Regions from separate parts of the Homo sapiens genome. Here region 2 is linked to region 1. The links are contacts of gene promoters, found by promoter capture Hi-C in human tissues and cell types (Jung and others, 2019). All regions are on one chromosome and are shown on one strand. Each heading gives the region's core, a stretch centred on a gene start or on the middle of the fragment in contact. The rest is flanking DNA. Distances are from core to core; before and after follow the strand shown. Region 1 holds the start of PLAC9 (placenta associated 9). Region 2 has its middle 35 kb from the start of LINC00857.

Region 1 (6,406 bases), core at 218-2,717:
GGTGGAGGCTATAGATGAGATAAAACTGCCCATGAACTGATACTTCTTGAAGCAGCGTTGATAAGTATATTACATGATTCTTTCACATACTATTACTTTGTATTTTTTTGTATCCAAAAGTTTTCATAATCAAAAGTTAAGATATATCATCTAAAATCTGAAAGATTATGCACAAAAATATATGAAATCAGTGTGAAATTACACTAATACATGAATACTTTCCTCCTTTCCTTCTTCTTTTTTTTTTTTTTTTGAAACTGAGTCTTGCTCTGTCACCCAGGCTGGATTGCGGTGGCTTGATCTCGGCTCACTGCAACCTCCGCCTCCCAGGTTCAAGTGATTCTCCTGCCTCAGCCTGCCGAGTAGCTGGGACTACAGGCATGTGCCACCACGCCCGATTAATTTTTTGTATTTTTAATAGAGACAGCATTTCACCATGTTAGCGAGGCTGGTCTTGATCTCCTGAGCTTGTGATCCGCCCGCCTGAGGGGTAGGTGAGGGGAAGAAAGCGGACAGTGAAAAGCAAGGAACCCAGCTAATGGAGTACCCAGACAGCCTCTCTCCTCCGCACAGCTCTCCACCTCCACCCAGTCCCCCATCTCCACCCAACATAGCTCAGTTTCCCAGAGAAGCTCCCTGGAAACCGGGAGGCTGACTTCTTCACTGACTGCAGATCCACCTGAGGCCACCTGGCAGGTGAATCGGTGGCCTTTCTCCTGGGCCCGACTGCCTGGTTCCTTAAGGCTGTGCTGGGCTAGCCTGGGTCACTCATCCTTTGGAGTGTGGCTTCTTATGCAATGTCCTATAAAGCCAGGCCTGAGCCTCCACAGGCCCTCTGAGATGGAGCTGGCCTCCGGGGCTGCCCCACCCAGCAGCTGTGACCTCCCACTCCAGATCCTGGCTCCTTCTCTCTTGCCAGCTCTACTCCGGGCATCGAGCTTCCCTCTCTCTCCTTTTTGGTCTCTCTCAAATCTTTCTCTTTTCTTCAATATCCTCTCTCCCTCCACCCCTTGCCATTTTAATCACTTTTTCTCTTTCCTTCTTCTCTTTTGTCTCTCAAACTCCTTTTTCTTTCTATCTTAGTTCATATCTGTTCAGGGGAAGCCTCTTTCTGTCTCAGCCTCTCCTTTTTCCTTTTCACTGTGTATTCTTCCCTATCTCCTTTATCTCTCCGTTGCTCTACTTCTCTGCCTTTTTCTGAGTCTGTTTCCTCTCAATCTTTCTCTCCATCCCTCCCTCCCTGCATCTGCCTCTCTGTCCATCTCGCTGCTGTGTCCAGCTCTCTCTCCGTCTCTCTCGCTCATTCCTTCCTCGCCATCTGCGGGTCTCCCCGGCTCCAGGTCCCCTGCCGCGCCCTGCGCCCCACTCACCGGCCAAAGAGCCCGCGGCGCGGAGCAGGGCCAGTCCGGTCAGCGCGCAGAGCAGGGGCCGCATGGTGCCGGCCTGGCCGAGCGCAGCGCCGCGTCTGCCCGCAGCCGCCCTTCCCGGATCGCACCCGGCCGGCCCGAGAGGAAATGCACTCAGTTCGAGCCAAAATTCCTGGGCGGCTCCGGACTTTCTGGCTCGAGAGAACCCGCCCCCTCCAGAGGCCCCTCGGCACCCCGTGGGCAGCGCGGAGCCCAGAGACCCCGGGAGCTGAGGCACCGACGTGCCACCTGGGCGCCTCCCGAGGAAGGGGCCGCCCCCCGAGTCCCCGCACCTCCTGGGAGCCCGGGAGGGAAGGCGGGGCGGGGGGCATTGGGTGAGGTCTTGGGCTCAAGGCGACCGAGCCTGGGGTCAGGGGTTTGTTACGAGCCAGTTTCACAGGCGGGCAGACTAAGACTCGGAGGGAAGTGTCTTCCTCGGCATCACTCTCAGCCATAGCACAGGATCTGAACCCCTGTCTCCTGGGAGTTTGGCAGCTTTTCTCTGTCTACCTACGAACAAGAAATTAATTCTAATTACATGGAACAGTGTCTGCCCCTAAGAGGGAGACCCAGAAACTCACTGCTCTGGTAAGGGAGTGATAGAAATATGAAAAGGTAATTTTAAAAAGAAAAGGTAAAATCGTAACTCTCGCAAAGATATGAAATTAGCATATACTAAAGATTTTATTCAATTCATTATTAATGAGGGGATAAGTAAGATGGTACAAGCAGCCCAAAGTTTAGAGCACAGTAGTGGAAACTTCCCCTATGGGACATGCCCATCCAACAAGTGCAACAACAAATTAAGTTTTAGTAAAAACACAAAGCAAAAAAGCTGTAGCTCTAACTTCTCTGCTGCAGAGCCCTGAGTGAGTGTCTCGTCTGGCTGTAAGTGGAACACATTCATCACCAAGCCTGGGAGAATGCCTTTGTCCATCAAGGGTCCCCGTTGGGATTACCTGGAGCTCTTGCAGATCAAGGCTGCCTCTCTGCCTTCTGTGTTCCTGGCTGTGGCTATGCAATTGTCCAAAACAGTTACCACGCTAACCAGTGATCCAGTTCTCACTCCCTCCTCCAGAGCAAGATAGTAGCCTCAGACGGAGAAATTCTGGTTCTGAGCCCGAGAATCTGAGACAGACTCAGATCTAAATCTTTTAAAAGCCTTCAAGGAGATTATGATGCCCACATGAGCTGGCTCAGAAGAAGAATTTATTTCAGGAATGCCAAAAATTTCTCACGCTTGGTGGTAGGACATTCCTTGATAGTTTCGCCAGGTGGGAAAAAAAGTTGTCAAAGAACTGCCCAACTCATAAGGATTCTTGTAGCTTAGAGCCAGTGGGCTACCTTATATTTTGAATTTAAGACTAAGAAAACACACACACACACAAAAACATATACAATACATTATTGTTGCGGTAGAGCATAAAGTAATTAAGTATACAGAGTAAAACATGAAAGTCTTTTCTGTTACGAATTCCCTCCGTCCAATGATTCAGGTCCAGTCCCCTCAACTTGGTAGGCTCTGCCTGTTCCACGTCTATGCATTCCCCATCTACCTAATGTATATTCAGACACAAATGTATATACATGAGATCAAGTCATAGATATTTTGAAGATTTGCTTTCATTCATGTTTATCTCAGTCATAACATTAAATCTTGGCTGGGTGCAGTGGCTCACGCCTGTAATCCCAGCACTTTGGTAGGCCGAGGTGGGTGGATCACCTGAGGCCAGGAGTTTGAGACCAACCTGGCCAACGTGGTGAAACTCCGTCTCTGCTAAAAATACAAAAAATTAGCAGGGCGTGGTGTTGGGCGCCTGTAGTCCCAGCTACTCAGGAGGCTGAGGCAGGAGAATCAGAACCCAGGAGGCGGAAGTGGCAGTGAGCCAAGATTGCACCACTGCACTCCAGCCTGGGCAACAGAGCAAGACTCCATCTTAAAATAAAAGAAAATAATCTTGGAGATCAGTCTATGTGGGTACAGATAAATCCACTTCATTCCTTTTAAGAGTTAAAATATCCCATGAATGGATACAAGGAGCATTATTTATCCAAACAGTCCCCTATTGACAGACATGTAGATTGCTTCCTTTTTCTCTCCAATATAAAATAAGCTTTAATAAACATTCCTTTGCATATATCTTCATGTACGTAGTACATATTCCTGTATGTACATATTTCTGAAAGGCTGGAAGAGGAATCATTGCGTCAAAGGCCTTTTACATTTTGCCAGATAGGCCAAAAACTGTTCCCCAAATTGTTACTAAGCCCACAGGAGGGGCAAGGGGTCTTCCAGCGCTGTTCCAAGGTGCACCTGAGCATGTTAGTCTAGGTAGGAATTGGGCTGCAGGGGGCGCCATTTACATAAAATACTTCTGCGCTGGGCGCGGCGGCTCACGCCTGTAATCCCAGCACTTTGGGAGGCCGAGGCGGGTGGATCACGAGGTCAGGAGATTGAGACCATCCTGGCTAACATGGTGAAACCCCGTCTCTACTAAAAACACAAAAAATTAGCCGGGCGTGGTGGCGGGCGCCTGTAGTCCCAACTACTCGGGAGGCTGAGGCAGGAGAATGGCATGAACCCGGGAGGCGGAGCTTGCCGTGAGCCGAGATTGCGCCACTGCACTCCTGCAGTGTCACCCACTGCACTGGGTGACAGAGTGAGACTCCGTCTCAAAAACAAAACAGAACAAAAAAACAAAAAAAACCCTTCTGGATTGGAGATACCTGAAGTGTAAACCTATCAGTCACCTACATTCTCCAACACTGGATATTTATTATTTAAAATTTTGACAGCTTGATGATGGAAAATGTTACCTTGTTGTTATTGTTATTTACATGCTACTTGTTATGAGTGAGGTTAAGCTTTATTTGCTTCTTCGATTACTTTTTTCTATTTTCCTCCCTTTCCTTTATATACTCTGATTATTAATGCAATGCCTGTTATATATGTTGGCAATGTCTTCTTCCAGCCTTCCATTATATTTAAGTTTCTTGGTGGTGTCTTTCATCATTCAGAAGTTTTAAATATTAGGTAGCCAAATCTCTCAATATTTTCTTTTCTTTTTTTTTTTTTTTTTTTTTCTTTTTTGAGACGGAGTCCCTCTCTTTCGCCCAGGCCGGACTGCAGTGGCGTTATCTCGGCTCACTGCAACTTCCGCCCTCCTGGGTTCACGCCATTCTCCTGCCTCAGCCTCCCGAGTAGCTGGGACTACAGGCGCCCGCCACCGCGCCCGGCTAATTTTTTGTATTTTTTGTATTTTTTGTAGAGACGGGGTTTCACCGTGTTAGCCAGGATGGTCTTAATCTCCTGACCTCGTGATCCGCCCGCCTCGGCCTCCCAATATTTTCTTTTATGGCTTATAGAGTTTACAACTTGCTTATGATTCCTCGAATCAAGGCTGTAAAGATATTTTTCTATGTTTCCTTCAAACAGTTTTAAGGTTTTCTCAAGGTCTAATGTCTAATCCATCTAGAATTTTTATGTGGTTGCAAGGAAGGAATCAAACTTAAATTTTTCCCTAAATGGGTATCTAAATGTCCTAATGCTCTTTATTGCCTAGTCCATCCTTTTACCACTACTTTGAACATAAAGTAGTTGGCTAGCTACTCATTTCCGAGGGGAGTTCTGGGAAAATCTCTCTACATCATGTCTGTCACAAGGTCAAGGAAACAAAAATGCAAAACAGACATATAATTTCAATAAATACTGAAACCATATTTGATGAAATTAAACAGGCCTCCCTAACTTAAAAACAGTAATAACAACAAACTTAGGATAAAAATAAAGGAAATAATGGGACATTTCCTTAACAAGATAACTACCTTTAATTTTTATATTTATAGTTTTTCAAATTAAAAAAATAATAAAAATAGAGACGAGGGGTCTTGCTGTGTTGCCCAGGCTGGTCTTGAGCACCTGGGCTCAAGTAATCCTCCCGCCTCAGCTTCCCAAAGTGCTGGGATTACAGGAATGAGCCACCATGCCCCGCCAACTACTTTTATCTTAAATAGTTCATCTGTACATAACAGAGAAAGGAGAAATGTATTCTTTATTAAATCAGGAATGAGGTAAAGATGCCATTATTGGCCAGGCATGGTGGCTCATGCCTATAATCCCAGCACTTTGGGAGGCCAAGGTGGGAGGATCACTTGAGCCCAGGAGTTTGAAACCAACCTTGGGAACACAGCATGATCCCATCTCTACTAAAAATTAAAAAAAACACACACACATTAGCGGGGCGTTGTGGCACACACCTATTACTGGGGAGGCTGAAGCAGGAAGATCGCTTAAGCCTAGTAGTTTGAGGCTGCAGTGAGCTATAATCACACCACTGCACCCCAGCCTGGGTGACAGAGTGAGACACTGTTCTAAAAAATAAATAAATAATTTAAAAACTTAAAATTAAATTAAAAATTTAAAAAATAAAAAAAGATGCCACTATCAACAAGTGTTTGGCTGGGTGCAGTGGCTCATGCCTGTTAATCCCAGCACTTTGGGAGGCAGAGGCAGGTGGATCACTTGAGGTCAGGAGTTCGAGACCAGCCTGGCCAACATGGAGAAACCCTGTCTCCACTAAAAATACAAAAATTAGCCAGGCGTGGTAGCACACGCCTATAATCCCAGCTACTAGGGAGGCTCAGGCAGGAGAATTGCTTGAACCCAGGGGGCGGAGGTTTCAGTGAGCCGAGATCGTGCCACTGCACTCCAGCCTGGGCGACAGAGTGAGAATTTGTCTCAAAAAAAAAAAAAAAATTAAGATAAGTGTTTGGAAATCAATTTATTTCTGTATACCAACAGAAACTGGCCCAAACATGTAAAGGGAAACTCCTGGGCAAAATGATAGTATGGAGCCAGTGGACCCAGTTGACAAACCTCCTCCTTCCAATATTCTTGAAAGTGACCAGTGAAATTAAAGATAGGGGAGACCGGCATCAGTGGCAGGAACTAGAGAAATATGCCAACCATATACCAGGCCTCAAAGCAAGGTGGGTAGCCA
Region 2 (6,107 bases), core at 1,231-3,730, 110 kb before region 1:
TCATTTCCCTCAGTTTCATCACTGAATTTCAGAAGGGACTAACTGAGATGTAAAGAAGCAGAGCAGCTTTTGCACCATGTGGAGGACTAGATGGAAAACAAGTAGACTGAGGGTCTGCTAGTGACGGTGACCCCTACTGAAGTCCACTGGCTTTGGTTGGGACCCAGAAGAGTCACACGCCAGGAATAGAGGTGGACAGGAAACACCCTGACTTTTGTAGGGACTGAACCTCACTGATAACCTCAATTGCGGATGGTATGGAGGGTGTCTAGGTGTGCTAGGACCCCTGCCCATTCCCCAGAAATAGACTCCCATCTTTTCTGCAGCAAGATAACATGCTAGTCGGCCTCAATTCATTGCTAAATATTTTTAACGAGTGTCTTACATTTAGCCAAAAAGACTAGTCATGTGGCAGGAAAAATACAATGTCATATGACCAAAAGCTAAAAGACTGTGAAAATGAATCCCGAGGTGACCCAAGCATTGAATTTAACAATGCCAGTACCTGGACCTCCGCTTGCCCCTAAAACATTACAATCAAGAATGTAGGAAGGGAAAGGAAACACGAAGATTAATCAAGCAGGAAGGACAAGCTCAGTTTTGCACCCACTGAATTTGCCACAAATATTGTGGAAAATATTCTCGGGGACATTGCAGTTGTCTACTTTGGTTGGCACATGGTTCATACAACAGTGTTTGTGTCAGTGAACATCTTACTCTTCCTCGGCAGTCTTTCTTTGCCCAGAGATTTCGCAATGACTGTTGACCTTCATCATCACCTTTTGGACTTTGGCTTGCACTTTAGCTTCTGTAGATCTCCATAATGTAAAGAGGTATTTTGGGTCCATTTTAATTCCTGCAAAGGATAAAATCCTTCTATTCGTGTGCATATAAGTGGACCTGAGCCCTTGGTTAGGGTGTAGAGAGGAGACGGGGAGAAACCTGAGGGCCAGAAGCTGTTCTTTCCCTTAAAAGGGCAAACTCATTTCCACACTATGGGGACTCTGACAGATAGCATACCTTCCTGGCTACGGCTATTGGACCTGCAGGCTTTCCCCTGTAAATCCGTGTTCTGTCATTGACATTTTGTGACTGTAAGACAGACTTGAGATAAGACATCTAGAAAACAATAATTGAACAATGATGTGAATATATTTCACACAACTGAACTGTACATTTCAACAAGGTTAAGATGGTAATTATCACGTTATACATATTTTACCGCAGGTTAAAATGTTTCACAGGTTGAAAGGAAAGCAACTACCTTCAGTTCTCTGAGTTCAAGAATTTGTAACATTTCACCCCCTGCTCCTTCCTGATCTTCTGTGGAGCATCTTTTTTCCATCCATGCTCTACTCAGAGCCCACTTTCCCTTCCCTGACACCAGCTTCACTGAGGCTGGTTGGAACCTAACACAAAACATTCTCAGTAATGACTGAATTCCCACAAAGAATTCCATATAGACCGCATATGAGTTGAATCTTCTAAGACATGAAATATTTGTTCTCTTCTTGGCTAATATGCAATGCAAATCCTGTTGCAAATGTACGTCATATACCTCTGAAATTCCTGATGTATTCAATGAAATAACATCTTTAAAGTTCTGTGTAGAATGCTTTTTTTTCTGATTTCTTCACATAGGATAGAAAAAAAAACCCAAAAAAACATGTACTAGGATTTCGATAGAAGCAATGGGTGATCTAAAAAGATGAAAGAGCAACCGCATGCGCCCCACAGCTACCGCTAGATTTTATGGGGAAAGCAGCTGGCCCAGTTTGCAGCTAGGAGAAATGTCAAACACATGAAGAAATGAGAAGCAAAGAAAAACCGTGAGGCATGAACATTTCATGGCACTCACGATGTCCTGGTTTGTGAGATAATGGGATAGAGGAGTAGATAACAAGGAGAAAGATGAGAAGGTGCAAAGTGGTTCAAGTCAAACAGCTCAACTGAACTTTTCTTAATGGAATATTTAAAAAGTGGTACATTAAAAAACTTCCCCCAGTTCACATCAAAAATTCTCTCTTCAGGACTAAGTTGAGTAGAGACTGTTCAATGTGCCTAGATATCTTCAGAACTCATATATTTTCTGTTTTCTACGTATGTTGAAGGGCAGTGCCAAATGATGTGTAATTATCTAGGTTGTAAAAATAAAACATACTCCCCCTTCCCTTGAGGATAAAAAAGCATTGTGGTGTTAGCACTTTTTTCTTGGATCATTGTTCAGAAGATGTTTAAGCCCCTAGACACCCAAACTTTTACTGTCATGAACAGCAAGAGAAAACGTAGAGCTCGATTTACTCAATGGACAAAAATGCTCAAAAGCCAAATTATGGCACAATTTAGCAGCCACATTCTTAACCAGTACAGACTTTTGACATACCGATCCCTCTCCAGTGGCAACCGAGAACATGTACTTTGAATGATGCCATTTGAAATGACCACTCATTACTCTGCCCAGACACACTTTTCATTGATTCTTCGGAGGGCAGTTCCAAGAGATTCTCTGGGGCTTTCTCTGCATCATGAGACACAGTGCAGTTCTGCCCTTGACCTTCCTGCAGTTTGTCGCCTCTTCCTCATGATCTCAGAGGAACTTTGTCTCAGGCCAGCTGTTTGTTCCTTGGGCTCTTTCATTTCCCCTAATAATCATTTGCTGCCCTGCCTTCATCTCCATCTCCCTTTTCCCTGAGAAGAGGGTGCTCATTAAGCATCAATCATCTGGCCCTTCTTGCAGTCTCATTTTTTGGCTGGCTCCCATGTTTATGCCTGTTAATAAGGTTCTATGTTTTCCTTCTCCTGTTAAGCTGTCTGTTGTTAGTACATTGCTGCAGTGAACCTTTAGAGAGGAGAGTGGAAGCTTTCCTTCCACCCATACAATAGAACTATAAAGCAGAAAAGTTTAGAAAGAATTTCTTATTTAAGTGCTGAAACTTTATACTTCAGTTTTTGATAAAGAGCAGAGGGCTTAAAAAAACGTATTTTTGACCAAAAGCTCTGTTGACATTCTATTAAACAAACACAAACCTATTTAATTTTTTAATTAAATAGGTTGAATTAAAAATTTAAAAAAATTTAAAAAATCTGCCATAATTTAAATGGCAGATTTTTCATAATTCTTATGCTAATAAATCATTTCCTGATTTTTTAAATAAAACCCAATATTCATAATGAAGTCCAGAACCACAAATTGTTTTAAATAATTTCTTATTTGTGATTACAAGTCCACCTCTAGGGAAAGTTAGTGTACTCACACCAAGGCTAGTTTTGCAGAAGAAAATGGCAAGTTTGTAAATTCCCAGGGACACAACAATAATGATAAGCATCCAAGGAATTCCAAAAAAGTCAGGCCCGGGATGAAAATGCCCAGGCAGAAAATTGACGATATGGAATACTACTAGTTGACATAATGAGAAGGCTCAATGACATTTACAATATTTCAGTTACAAAGGATCATCCTTAGAAACCCTTAACCTCCTCCAAGAAGTAACCACACCCCTCAGATATCCCCGGGCAATTCCACTGCTTCAGGAAAGATTGGAAATTTCCAGTCTCATGTTTCTTGCATGGATGGTAGTGTATTTAGGCGTGCAAATGTGGGCTGTCTTTTTTCTTGGTCTGAAGCAGGCATGTCCAGTCTTTTGGCTTCCCTGGGCTATATTAGAAGGAGAATTGTCTTGTGCCACACATAAAGTACACTAACAATAACTGATGAGGAAAAAAAATCACAAAAAAATCTCAGAATGTTTGAAGAAAGTTTAGAAATTTGTGTTGGGCTGCATTCAGAAAAGCTGTCCCGGGTTGAATACACTCTGCCACCCATGGGTTGGACAAACTAGGTATAAAGTGATTATCTTTAAAGTCATTTACTTATTTTTTAGATTGAAATATAACATTGAATGTATTTGTCATGTATCACATGATAAAGGAATCTCTCTGGATCCCACTTCTTTCTTGAATTACATGAATCTTTGCAATTTAAAGAATATAAGTAAAAAAATACAATTAAGAGATGACTTCATTCAGAAATAAGTATCAAATTTTAGTGCTTAAAAATAACCAAGGTGGAGGGTGGGTGCAGTGGCTCATGCCTGTAATCTCAGCACTTTGGGAGGCTGAGGCAGGTGGATTACCTGAGGTCAAGAGTTTGTGACCAGCCTGGCCAACATGGAGAAACCCCATCTCTACTAAAACAAAAATTCTCTGGGTATGGTGGCAGGTGCCTGTAATCCCAGCTAATTGGGAGGCTGAGGAGGCTGAGGAAGAAGAATCGCTTGAACCCAGGAGGCACAGGTTGTGGTGAGCCAAGACCACCCAGCTGCACTCCAGCCTGGGCAACAAGAGGAAACTCCGTCTCAAAACAATAAATAAATAAATATTTAGAAATTTGTGTTACATTATTTGTAATATATAAAAAAAGAGTCCACACTGTATGATGGAAGAATGAGAAAAATATAAGAAAAAAGTCTTAAAGTTATAGATGAAAATATGACATAAAGATATGTTTATATCTATGCAAAACCGAGAGTGGACAGCTGCTATAATAATAATACCTGGGTTATATTCCAACAAAAATAATCACAGATGGTTGTTTAGCCCAAGTTTCTAAAATCAGTGTTCACTTTGCTGCTGACACAGCGCACGTCATGTCAGATTTTCAAAGTCAAAAAGAATTTGCATAACAAAGTCTTTTTGGAATTATGATTAAAACTGTGAGAATTGAATTTAGTTAAAAATACAACACCGGCCAGGCACAGTAGCTCACGCCTGTAATCCCAGCACTTTGGGAGGCCGAGGCGGGAGGATCACGAGGTCAATAGATCGAGACCATCCTGGCCAACATGGTGAAACCCCGTCTGTACTAAAAATACAAAAATTAGCTGAGCATGATGGCATACACCTGTAGTCCCAGCTACTAGGGAGACTGAGGCAGGAGAATCACTTGAACCCGGGAGGCGAAAGTTGCAGTGAGCCGAGATGGCTCCACTGCACTCCAGCCTAGCGACAGAGCGAGACTCCATCCTCCCCATCAAAAAAAGCCCACCAAATAACCAGTAACAAGAGTTCACCTTCATATTTTAGAGCATTGCACCTAAAGCAATCAGTAGCAACCTTGGAAATCTGCATGGAAAACAATATAAATGTTCTGGAATGTATGGCCACCACCACAAAAGGCACACATACTATTTTACAAGCACTAGATTTACAAGTATTGGGGGAGAAAATAAATTCAAAATGTAATTCAGACCAATCCACACACCAAGACTCAGTTTTGTGCAAATAAAACCTCTTTAGAAAGCAGCCTTTGACCTCTGTAGCACTTTTGTCTTCAGCCTCACAGTGGAGGTGAGTACAGCCTGGGCTCCTGGGAGGGATGCACTGTCCCTGAGGAGCCTCTGTCTGAAAAGGAGTAGGAGCTCTGGGCACAATGGTTAAAGATGTGGATCAAATGTACAAGAAGGATAAAGGCCATCTTGTCATTGACCAGGAACTCATCCCCCATCTTGGGCACTCTTGTCACACCTGACAACTATCTGGTTGTAGGTTATCAGTAGTGGGCTCCTACCTAGATTAGGTCCAATGGGGCCAGTAAAAGCTTCGGTTCTGACAGTCGATAGCCATGAGCAAGGGTGAAAGTAGAAAATGCAATGAGGAAAATGTATCCAAGTCTTCAAAGGTGAGGTAGGGAAAGAGAGTTTAACTGATCTATGAAAATGCAGCCAGGTAAAGGGGAAACAATTCCAACAAAGATTCTCAACACATTTCCTCCTTCATAGCCTCAAAAGAAACAATAGATTCTTTGATTGGAGGCATTCATGTGGGGTGATTCTGCCTGGATGCAGTGGTTGCTCCCCATCACTAGACTTCCAAATCTCTTCCTAAGAATCTGGTGCATGCCAGTCAGAAAAAATATTCTCATCTCCATAAAGCACCCTCTCCTGAGTGTAGTGGAGAGGTTTTATAATGTGAGGGTGAAAACTTTCAAAGTAGAAACCTGTCATTTCTTTATATTTGGACAATCATAAGCACTTTAAGACCCTTTCTGGTTTGGGTAAATCAGTGATCTGCACAAGACACGCTTTACAAAACCCAGCTTCCTGTCCTTG

Evidence for each region. Contacts are between HindIII fragments. The study calls those that stand out against the background at their distance.
Region 2: a fragment that was not itself captured here is called in contact with the fragment with the promoter of PLAC9 in region 1 in 2 of the 25 tissues and cell types used here (bladder and spleen).

The regions. Positions count from the first base shown.
Region 1 is chr10:80,127,791-80,134,196 of GRCh38, reverse strand. PLAC9 (placenta associated 9) reads right to left here and starts at 1,467. Exons shown (of 4, transcript NM_001012973.3): 1 at 1,371-1,467. The coding sequence starts at 1,434. The HindIII fragment of the contact is 8,390 bases long and covers 1-3,896 here.
Region 2 is chr10:80,239,969-80,246,075 of GRCh38, reverse strand. No RefSeq gene overlaps it. Among named protein-coding and RNA genes, the nearest start is that of LINC00857, 35 kb to the right of the region's middle. The HindIII fragment of the contact is 7,440 bases long and covers 1-6,107 here.